2 separate regions of the Homo sapiens genome follow, and region 2 is linked to region 1. The links are contacts of gene promoters, found by promoter capture Hi-C in human tissues and cell types (Jung and others, 2019). All regions are on one chromosome and are shown on one strand. The core of a region is centred on a gene start or on the middle of the fragment in contact, and the rest is flanking DNA. Distances in the headings are between cores, read along the strand shown. Region 1 holds the start of NOTO (notochord homeobox). Region 2 overlaps EMX1 (empty spiracles homeobox 1).

What was found. The method cuts DNA at HindIII sites, captures the fragments that hold promoters and counts their contacts. A contact is called where the count stands out against the background at its distance.
Region 2: a fragment that was not itself captured here is called in contact with the fragment with the promoter of NOTO in region 1 in 2 of the 25 tissues and cell types used here (spleen and thymus).

The regions. Positions count from the first base shown.
Region 1 is chr2:73,200,285-73,205,220 of GRCh38, forward strand. It overlaps NOTO (notochord homeobox), which reads left to right and starts at 2,290. Exons shown (of 3, transcript NM_001134462.2): 1 at 2,290-2,764. The coding sequence starts at 2,383. RefSeq lists an enhancer at 3,133-3,684. The HindIII fragment of the contact is 15,336 bases long and covers 1-4,936 here.
Region 2 is chr2:72,930,443-72,935,386 of GRCh38, forward strand. EMX1 (empty spiracles homeobox 1) reads left to right here. Exons shown (of 3, transcript NM_004097.3): 3 at 3,345-4,449. The coding sequence ends at 3,512. Among named protein-coding and RNA genes, the nearest start is that of EMX1, 15 kb to the left of the region's middle. The HindIII fragment of the contact is 3,445 bases long and covers 1-2,989 here.

The sequences.
Region 1 (4,936 bases), core at 1,040-3,539:
TTTGTATTTTTAGTAGAGATGGGGTTTCACGATGTTGGTCAGGCTGGTCTCGAACTCCTGACCTCAAGTGATCCACCCGCCTCAGCCTCACACCTGCCTTGGCCTCCTAAAGTGCTGGGATTTACAGGTGTGAGCCACCGTGCCCAGCCAGCCCTTGGTATTTTCCATCTTCTGGTGCGTGTATAGTGGATCACGATGTGATTTGAATTTGCATTTCCCTGATGACTCACAGAGTTCAGTATGTTTCATACTTTTTTTTTTTTTGAGACAGAGTCTCGCTCTTTCGCCCAGGCTGGAGTGCAGTGGTGCAGTCTTGGCTCACTGCAACCTCCGCCTCCCAGGTTCAAGCAATTCTCCTGCCTCAGCCTCCGAGTAGCTGAGATTACAGGCACCCACCACAACACCCAGCTAGTTTTTGTATTTTTAGTAGAGATGGGGTTTCACCATGTTAGCCAGGCTGGTCTCAAACTCCTGACCTCAAGTGATCTGCCCGCCTTGGCCTCCCAAAGTGCTGGGATTACAGGCATGGGCCACCGCGCCCAGCCACATATGGTTTTAAGCTATTCAGATATTTCCTTTTATAAAGTGCCTAGTTCATGTACTAACCCATCTCAGTGGTCTTTTTAAAGTCTGTTGTAGGGCTGGGTGCGGTGGCTTACGCCTGTAATCCCAGCACTTTGGGAGGCCAAGGCGGGTGGATCACCTGAGGTCAGGAGTTCAAGACCAGCCTGGACAACATGGTGAAACCCCATCTCTACTAAAAATACAAAAAATTAGCTGGGCATGGTGGCGGGTGCCTGTAATCCCAGCTACTCAGGAGGCTGGGGCAGGAGAATCGCTTGAACCCAGGAGGCAGAGGTTGCAGTGAGCCGAGTGCCATTGCACTCCAGCCTGGGCAACAAGAGTGAAACTCCATCTCTAAATAAATAAATAAATGAATAAAAATAAAGTCTGTTATTCGTTTGGCTTTATTTTTGGTATACTTAACAAAAATTAGCTGGGTGTGGTGGCACATGCCTGTAATCCCAGCTACTGAAGCAGGAAAATCGCTGGAACCTGGGAGGCAAAGGTTGCAGTGAGCCAAGATTGTGCCACTGCACTCTAGCCTGGGCAACTCCATCTCAGAAAAAAAAAAAAAAAGGACTACTAAAAGAATGAAAAGGCAGGCCACAGAGTGACAGAGGTTATCTGCTTCTATGTATATTACAACGAAGGACTTGATTCCAAATTATCTATACATAAAACTCTTACAATAAGAAAAACATAGTGACCCAATACAAAAATAAGCAAACCAGTTGAACAGGCACTTCACACAAAAGAGGATATCCAAGTGGCTGATAAGCATGTAAAAAGATGCTCACAATGAACGGTCTTCAGGGAAATAAATGCAAATTAAAACCACATACCTAGGGGATTTGAAACAAGGCAGTTCTGTTAACCTCTCTTGCTGTATTTACTAATATGTAAATTGGAGATATTAATGCTTATGCTCAGGAATTTACAGTCTGAAGAAGGAATAAATGACACAACAGAAAACTGATAATTATGTATGGAAACACAGAATTATATACTAAAAGTCCAAGGTTAGAGACATAGTGGCCATATCTTTTACCCCTAAATCAACTCAAATCAAATCAAATCAAATCCTGAGCTCAAGCGATCCTCCCGCCTCGGCCTCCCACACAAGTACTGGGATGCCAGGCATGAGCCACTGCACCTGGCCAAAAAAAATATTAAAGAAAGAACGAAATTGGTAATCACAGCGCATCTCAAGGCAGGGAAACTAAAGGGCTGAGGCCAGATGGAAAATGTACTTATCACTGTGCTTATAAATAAAATATTTACATTTTAAAACAAACAAACAAAAAGTCCGCGCGGTCCTAGGTGAATCTGGCCGAGGCTTCTGCGTCAAGGACGGCGCGGGTCAGCTGAGGCCAAGACCGCAGGCACTGCCCTACCGCTCTCCAGATCACAGCTCCGCCTCTGCAAGGCCCCGGGGAAACGGGCATCCCTTCTTCAGTGAGCAAAGGAGAAAGACGGAGCCCGGTGGCTGGGTGTTTCGCCCAGGATCACCAGCGAGCTCAGAGTCCTCCCCACGACCGCCCCAGGGTGGGCATTTTTAAAAGCGGAGGAAGGGAGGGAACACACTCTTTGGTGCTGTGCCCACCTTGCCTCGCACAGAGCGGGCGCTCACAGGCTTTGGGGGCCCCGCCCGGACCGCAGTGGGGAGAGGCCGCCCCATGCCCCGCCCCGCCAAATTTAAGAGCCTTCGCCGAGCGCCAGGAGGTTCCCAGACAACCGGTCTTGCTCGCTGCCTTTTGCAGAATCTTCTCACTTCTCCCGAGCTCCCTTCCTTGCGTCCGTCCGGGCAACGGCCGCGTCATGCCTAGCCCCAGGCCGCGAGGCAGCCCGCCACCCGCTCCCTCGGGCTCTCGGGTCCGACCTCCGCGCTCTGGCCGCTCTCCGGCGCCCAGGTCCCCTACTGGCCCGAACACGCCCCGCGCTCCCGGACGCTTCGAGTCCCCTTTCTCGGTCGAGGCCATCCTGGCGAGGCCCGACCCCTGCGCGCCGGCGGCCTCCCAGCCGTCGGGCTCCGCCTGCGTCCACCCGGCCTTCTGGACCGCTGCTTCCCTGTGCGCCACCGGGGGTCTGCCCTGGGCTTGCCCGACATCGTGGCTGCCCGCCTACCTGAGCGTAGGTTTTTACCCTGTGCCAGGGCCGCGCGTGGCTCCCGTCTGCGGCCTGCTGGGCTTCGGCGTCACAGGTACTGCGGTCCCGGCGCCCGCACGCGGGGGACTGGGCGGGGGCTGGAGAGCCTAGGTCGCCACTGCCGGCGCCCCAGTGCAGGAGAGGGCACTGAGTGTGAGAATCACACACGGCTGGAGTGGGAAGGGGCTCTGCCACCGTTTACCTTGCAGTTGAAGCCGAGGACCGCGACAGTCTTGCTGAAAAAGACCCCGGCGCGAGGCTTCCCCCGCACGCTGCTGAGGTGGGAGAGGGTGGGTGTGAGGGCGGCGCAGCGCCTGAATGCGGTGGGCAGGAGGCCAGCGCTGGGGCTGCAAGGGGACCCAGCCCTGCTCCCGGTCTCCGCGTCCCTTGACTCCCTCGCACACCCCGGGGTAGCGCTTAGTGACAGAGACGCTTCCCAAAGCGGCTCTCGACCCGAACCAATGGCCCTGTTTTTTTTTTTTACGGGGTAGGGGGAAGTGGACGCTCCGGGCGGTGCTGTTGAGCGAGGAGCTGTTAGGAGCTGGTCAAGGCTCACACCCCACTACCGCCTCCACTGCTCACGTCTGTGAACTTGAGCTACACACTTCGCTCTGAGCCTGCGTGCATGCAATGCTCTTAAGTAGTGCTTAAGGGCCAGGCACTTAAATCTCATGAGAAAGTAATTGTAAGGTTGGGCGCGGTGGCTCACGCCTGTAATTTCAGCACTTTGGAAGACCGAGGCGGGTGGATCACCTGAAGTCAGGAGTTCAAGGCCAGCCTGGCCAACATGGTGAAACCACATCTTTACTTAAAAGACAAAAAATTGGCCGGGCGCGGTGGCTCACGCCTGTAATCCCAGCACTTTGGGAGGCCGAGACGGGCGGATCACGAGGTCAGGAGATCGAGACCATCCTGGCTAACACGGTGAAACCCCGTCTCTACTAAAAATACAAAAATTAGCCGGGCATGGTGGCGCGTGCCTGTAGTCCCAGCTACACAGGAGGCTGAGGCAGGAGAATGGCGTGAACCCGGGAGGCGGAGCTTGCAGTGAGTCGAGATCGCGCCACTGCACTCCAGCCTGGGCGACAGAGCGAAACTCCGTCTCAAAAAAAAAAAAAAAAAAAAAGACAAAAAATTAGGAGGGCGTGGTGGCGCGCGCTTGTAATCCCAGCTACTCAGGAGGCTAAAGCAGGAGAATCACTTGAACCCGGGAGGTTGAGGTTGCATTAAGCCGAGATTGCGCCACTGCACTCTAGCCTGGGCAACAGAGTGAGACTCCGTCTCAAACAAACAAATCAACAAAAAAAAGTAACTATAGAGGGAACTTTGCCTTCTAGCATTAAACATCCACCTACACGTGCTTTTGCCATTTTTGGTTGCCAGGTTCATGTTTCCCCATGTCCCCACGAAGAAAACAGGAGCAAAGTTAGTCCAAGCCTTATCAACCCATACAAAGATAGTTGTAACACAGTCTTGCCGGGTTCCTACTCCGTGGCACCCACCCCAATCCTGCATTTCCTCACCCCATTTCAGCAGTGCATTAACCCTTGGACTCGCAGCCCCATCTAAATTCAATACCACTGGATCTGGGAGCTGTGCCCATCACTCCCAGTCACCTTTCTCTGAGCTCTTCACACACCTGAGGTCTGAATTACAGTTTACTACTTCATGTTACAGTTGCCTCATTTTCAAGTTAGTTGTTTTCTTTTGTTCTGTTTTGTTTTGTTTTGAGACGGAGTCTCACTCTGTCTCCCAGGCTGGAGTGCAGTGGCGCTATCTCTGCTCACTACAACCTCCTCCTTCCGGTCTCAAGTGATTCTCCTGCCTTAGCCTCTGGAGTGGCTGGAATTACAAGCCCCAGCACCATGCCCGGCTAATTTTTTTTATTTTTTTATTTTTTTTTTTTGAGGCGGAGTCTTGCTCTGTCCTTAGGCTGGAGTGCAGTGGTGCAATCTCGGCTCACTGCAAGCTCCGCCTCCCGGGTTCACGCCATTCTCCTGCCTCAGCCTCCCGAGTAGCTGGTACTGCAGGCACATGCCGCCACACCTGGCTAATTTTTTGTATTTTTAGTAGAGACGGGGTTTCACCATGTTAGCCAGGATGGTCTTGATCTCCTGACCTCGTGATGTATTTCTTTTTCTGTGAACTACTGTTCTTGTATTTTGCCCATATGTATAGTTGGTTATTTAAAACAATCTATTTGTAGATGCTCTTTTCTATTGAGGAA
Region 2 (4,944 bases), core at 17-2,516, 270 kb before region 1:
GATGTGGCCTCTGAGAAACTGAGATGTTCACTTCACAGTGAAATGAGGACTTGGGAGACCACAAGGGACCTCTTGCTACAGCAGAGAGGTCAGAGTGGGCAAGGGGTCCTCCAGCTAACATTCCAACTGTACCTCGGGGCTTAGAGAGAGGTGAGTAGTGTGTTTGTGTTGGGGATGGGGAGGCATGTGCAGGACAGATCCAGCCTCCAAGCCATACCATATGACCCAGCTCCTTTCCAGGGCCTGTTTTCTCTAGGGAAGGGGCTCTGAAGGATCCAGAGTTGCCTGGCTGGGTTGGAGAGGTCATGAAATGTCACTCTCATCTCCTAATACACTCAGAGCCCAGTTCCTTTTCTTTTTCCAAGTAAAAAATAACTACCATTATCAATAATCTATTAAGGAAAATTCAGAAAAGTAGAAAGAAGAAAGAAACATCACCCACACTTTAGGTATATTTCCTTCTAGTCTTTTTTCCCCGTGTGTAGATTTTGTTTTTCTATGGTTGTGATCACACTGTGCCAGCCTTGTGCATCCTGGCGTTTCCATTAATGCTATGAAGTCATAAGCACTACCCTGTTATTGCAGTCTTTGTAAACAGCATCTGGACACTCAGCCCAAGGCTGTTCTCCGGAAGATGGCCAGGCTGCACAGGGAGAGGGTTTATGTCCCTGCCTCTAGAGAGATGCCTACTTGACCCCAGTATTTTTCATGGAGAAAATATTCAGAATCACCTTTCACTTGGGTGCCCTAGGAAGCTGCCTCTGGCCTATCCTGTGCCTGAAGTCGCCATCCAAAGCTTTCCTTCTTTGAGCCAGTGTTGCTAGTCAAGGGCAGCATGCTGGGCCCGTCCCACTACAGGCCAATGTGACCGTCAGTCTCCTTCCTGAAGGACACTTGGAAATGCATGTGGAAAGAGGAAGGTACAGAAAAGGGCCCCCGGTCCCTGGTACTGCCCGCATCACCTGACAGTCACCTTCGGCCAGCCCACTTGGGCTTCTCAGGAATGACACCCCGGCCCTGCATCTGGCCCTGAGTCACGCACAGGAGGCAGGGTGAGCTCACCCGCCCACTGACTGGCACAGTCATAGCAGGCTCCAGGGTGGGGGGCAGGGGCCAGGCTGCTGCCAAATGGTTGTGCTGAGAACCACCCAGGGTCCAGGTGGCCCTGCGCCCAAAGATAGGTGGGCTTGGAGTCCAGCAGCCTGTGCCCAGAGCCTCTGCCATCCTCCACGGCCGGCCTAGGTGAGATGTGCAGGCTATGGGCTTGGAAATGAGGGGAGAATCCCCTTGCCCTCACTCCATCCATCGAGGCCGGGCACCAACCCTTCCTGGGCCAGCTTTCCAGCCCCTGGCTGGCTGCTCTGCAGGCACTGAATGCCAGCTGCCCCCATCCCCATGCCAGTGCTCTAAAATCAGTGCTCTCAAACAAGGGCAGATGGCGCAGTGGAAGTTCTGGCAAGAGGGGACTGTGAGGGGAAGTCCTGGGGTAGGTGGGACAGAGAGGACTGCCTGGGAAGGGTGTAGGGGCAGCACCTCCTGGGCATGAAACCATCTGCAGGGCACAGGGGCCAGGCCTGCCTCTGCATGCACTGCTTGGCCTTGTGGCTAAGGCCTGTGCTTTACCCAGTTCTCTGGGAGCAGGAGCAGTCTTTCTGAGGCCTGCCCTCAGCCCTGCCCAGGGTTCAAGGATCTCTCCTCAGCATCATTGCTGCTGCCAAAACCAAGAGGCTACCCACCATTCCTCACCCGCAACTCTGCCACGCAGCACCGTCTGCACAGCTGCAGTTGGCCACATCCACTTGCTTTTAAATGTGCTGTCATTTCCTGGAAACCATCCAGGCCTTGTAGCCTGCCCTCTGCACCTCCTCCCCAAGGGGGGCCTCTGGAGCAAGAATCCAAGAGGTGCCCTGGCAGCTGCAAGTGTCCCCAGAACATTTCCTCTATGCATGAAGGACTGAAGCCCAGAGGGGGAAGGGACTTAGCTGAGAATCAGTACCCAGGATCCTCCTGCCAACGCTGAAGATGGTTTGGGTCTGGCCTGACTCTGCAAAGCCAAGTAAAGAACCACGGAGTCAGGGAGAGTTGACAGATGAAGGCTTTCTCCACAGCCCACAAGCACTAAGTCCAGTCCAGGAGCCAGGATGAGCCTCCCAGATTATGCATGAGAGGACATTAAGGGCTGTGTCCTGGACACTGAACAGATGCTGGAGGAGGAGGGAAAAGAGGCTTCCTGGAGGAGATGGCTTAGAACCATAGACCTGCCCTCTGCCTCATGCCTCCTCCATCATGGAGGATGGTTGTCCAGTTTCTGTTTGAACCCCACCCCATACCTTGCCAGGGCTCTCACTGCCAGACACAGAATAGGGGGCTCCCTGGGTTCAAAGTAGAGCTCACTTCTGTCCCCTGGGCTTCTCCTGACTGTTCCTTGTGTGACCTGTTCCCACATCTGGATGGGCTGCAGGAGCCAGTGCTGTGGGGACAGAAGGTCTGGAGCTGCCCGTGAAGGGCAGAATGCTGCCCTCAGACCCGCTTCCTCCCTGTCCTTGTCTGTCCAAGGAGAATGAGGTCTCACTGGTGGATTTCGGACTACCCTGAGGAGCTGGCACCTGAGGGACAAGGCCCCCCACCTGCCCAGCTCCAGCCTCTGATGAGGGGTGGGAGAGAGCTACATGAGGTTGCTAAGAAAGCCTCCCCTGAAGGAGACCACACAGTGTGTGAGGTTGGAGTCTCTAGCAGCGGGTTCTGTGCCCCCAGGGATAGTCTGGCTGTCCAGGCACTGCTCTTGATATAAACACCACCTCCTAGTTATGAAACCATGCCCATTCTGCCTCTCTGTATGGAAAAGAGCATGGGGCTGGCCCGTGGGGTGGTGTCCACTTTAGGCCCTGTGGGAGATCATGGGAACCCACGCAGTGGGTCATAGGCTCTCTCATTTACTACTCACATCCACTCTGTGAAGAAGCGATTATGATCTCTCCTCTAGAAACTCGTAGAGTCCCATGTCTGCCGGCTTCCAGAGCCTGCACTCCTCCACCTTGGCTTGGCTTTGCTGGGGCTAGAGGAGCTAGGATGCACAGCAGCTCTGTGACCCTTTGTTTGAGAGGAACAGGAAAACCACCCTTCTCTCTGGCCCACTGTGTCCTCTTCCTGCCCTGCCATCCCCTTCTGTGAATGTTAGACCCATGGGAGCAGCTGGTCAGAGGGGACCCCGGCCTGGGGCCCCTAACCCTATGTAGCCTCAGTCTTCCCATCAGGCTCTCAGCTCAGCCTGAGTGTTGAGGCCCCAGTGGCTGCTCTGGGGGCCTCCTGAGTTTCTCATCTGTGCCCCTCCCTCCCTGGCCCAGGTGAAGGTGTGGTTCCAGAACCGGAGGACAAAGTACAAACGGCAGAAGCTGGAGGAGGAAGGGCCTGAGTCCGAGCAGAAGAAGAAGGGCTCCCATCACATCAACCGGTGGCGCATTGCCACGAAGCAGGCCAATGGGGAGGACATCGATGTCACCTCCAATGACTAGGGTGGGCAACCACAAACCCACGAGGGCAGAGTGCTGCTTGCTGCTGGCCAGGCCCCTGCGTGGGCCCAAGCTGGACTCTGGCCACTCCCTGGCCAGGCTTTGGGGAGGCCTGGAGTCATGGCCCCACAGGGCTTGAAGCCCGGGGCCGCCATTGACAGAGGGACAAGCAATGGGCTGGCTGAGGCCTGGGACCACTTGGCCTTCTCCTCGGAGAGCCTGCCTGCCTGGGCGGGCCCGCCCGCCACCGCAGCCTCCCAGCTGCTCTCCGTGTCTCCAATCTCCCTTTTGTTTTGATGCATTTCTGTTTTAATTTATTTTCCAGGCACCACTGTAGTTTAGTGATCCCCAGTGTCCCCCTTCCCTATGGGAATAATAAAAGTCTCTCTCTTAATGACACGGGCATCCAGCTCCAGCCCCAGAGCCTGGGGTGGTAGATTCCGGCTCTGAGGGCCAGTGGGGGCTGGTAGAGCAAACGCGTTCAGGGCCTGGGAGCCTGGGGTGGGGTACTGGTGGAGGGGGTCAAGGGTAATTCATTAACTCCTCTCTTTTGTTGGGGGACCCTGGTCTCTACCTCCAGCTCCACAGCAGGAGAAACAGGCTAGACATAGGGAAGGGCCATCCTGTATCTTGAGGGAGGACAGGCCCAGGTCTTTCTTAACGTATTGAGAGGTGGGAATCAGGCCCAGGTAGTTCAATGGGAGAGGGAGAGTGCTTCCCTCTGCCTAGAGACTCTGGTGGCTTCTCCAGTTGAGGAGAAACCAGAGGAAAGGGGAGGATTGGGGTCTGGGGGAGGGAACACCATTCACAAAGGCTGACGGTTCCAGTCCGAAGTCGTGGGCCCACCAGGATGCTCACCTGTCCTTGGAGAACCGCTGGGCAGGTTGAGACTGCAGAGACAGGGCTTAAGGCTGAGCCTGCAACCAGTCCCCAGTGACTCAGGGCCTCCTCAGCCCAAGAAAGAGCAACGTGCCAGGGCCCGCTGAGCTCTTGTGTTCACCTGCCCTTCTGTTTGTCCCACTTGTCAGGATGAAGGTTTCCTGACAAGCAAATCTGCATTCCTAAGTCTTTCCCTTACGACATCCAGACCCCTCTCTTTCTTCTTCACCTCCCATGTGCTCATGAAACCTCTGCTCTTTGGCCTCCATGCCACCATTCTGCCGGTGCTAATGACAGTCACCAACCACAGTCACTGGCCACCCCCTTGTGGCCAAACTCAACCACTTCCTGTTGGGTTCACCTGCTCCCTGATCTGTTGGCTATGCCCTCCTGGATTCTCCCACCCCGCTCTGCCTTCATTTCGGTAGCTCTGACTCCTCCTTCAGCCTGAGTTCATTCAGTGTGATCCATGCCTTGTCACCTCTGGCCACCCCCAGGTCAGTCCTTGCTCTCCCTGACTCCTCATTATGTCCTTTGCCTTGTGGGGATCACATCC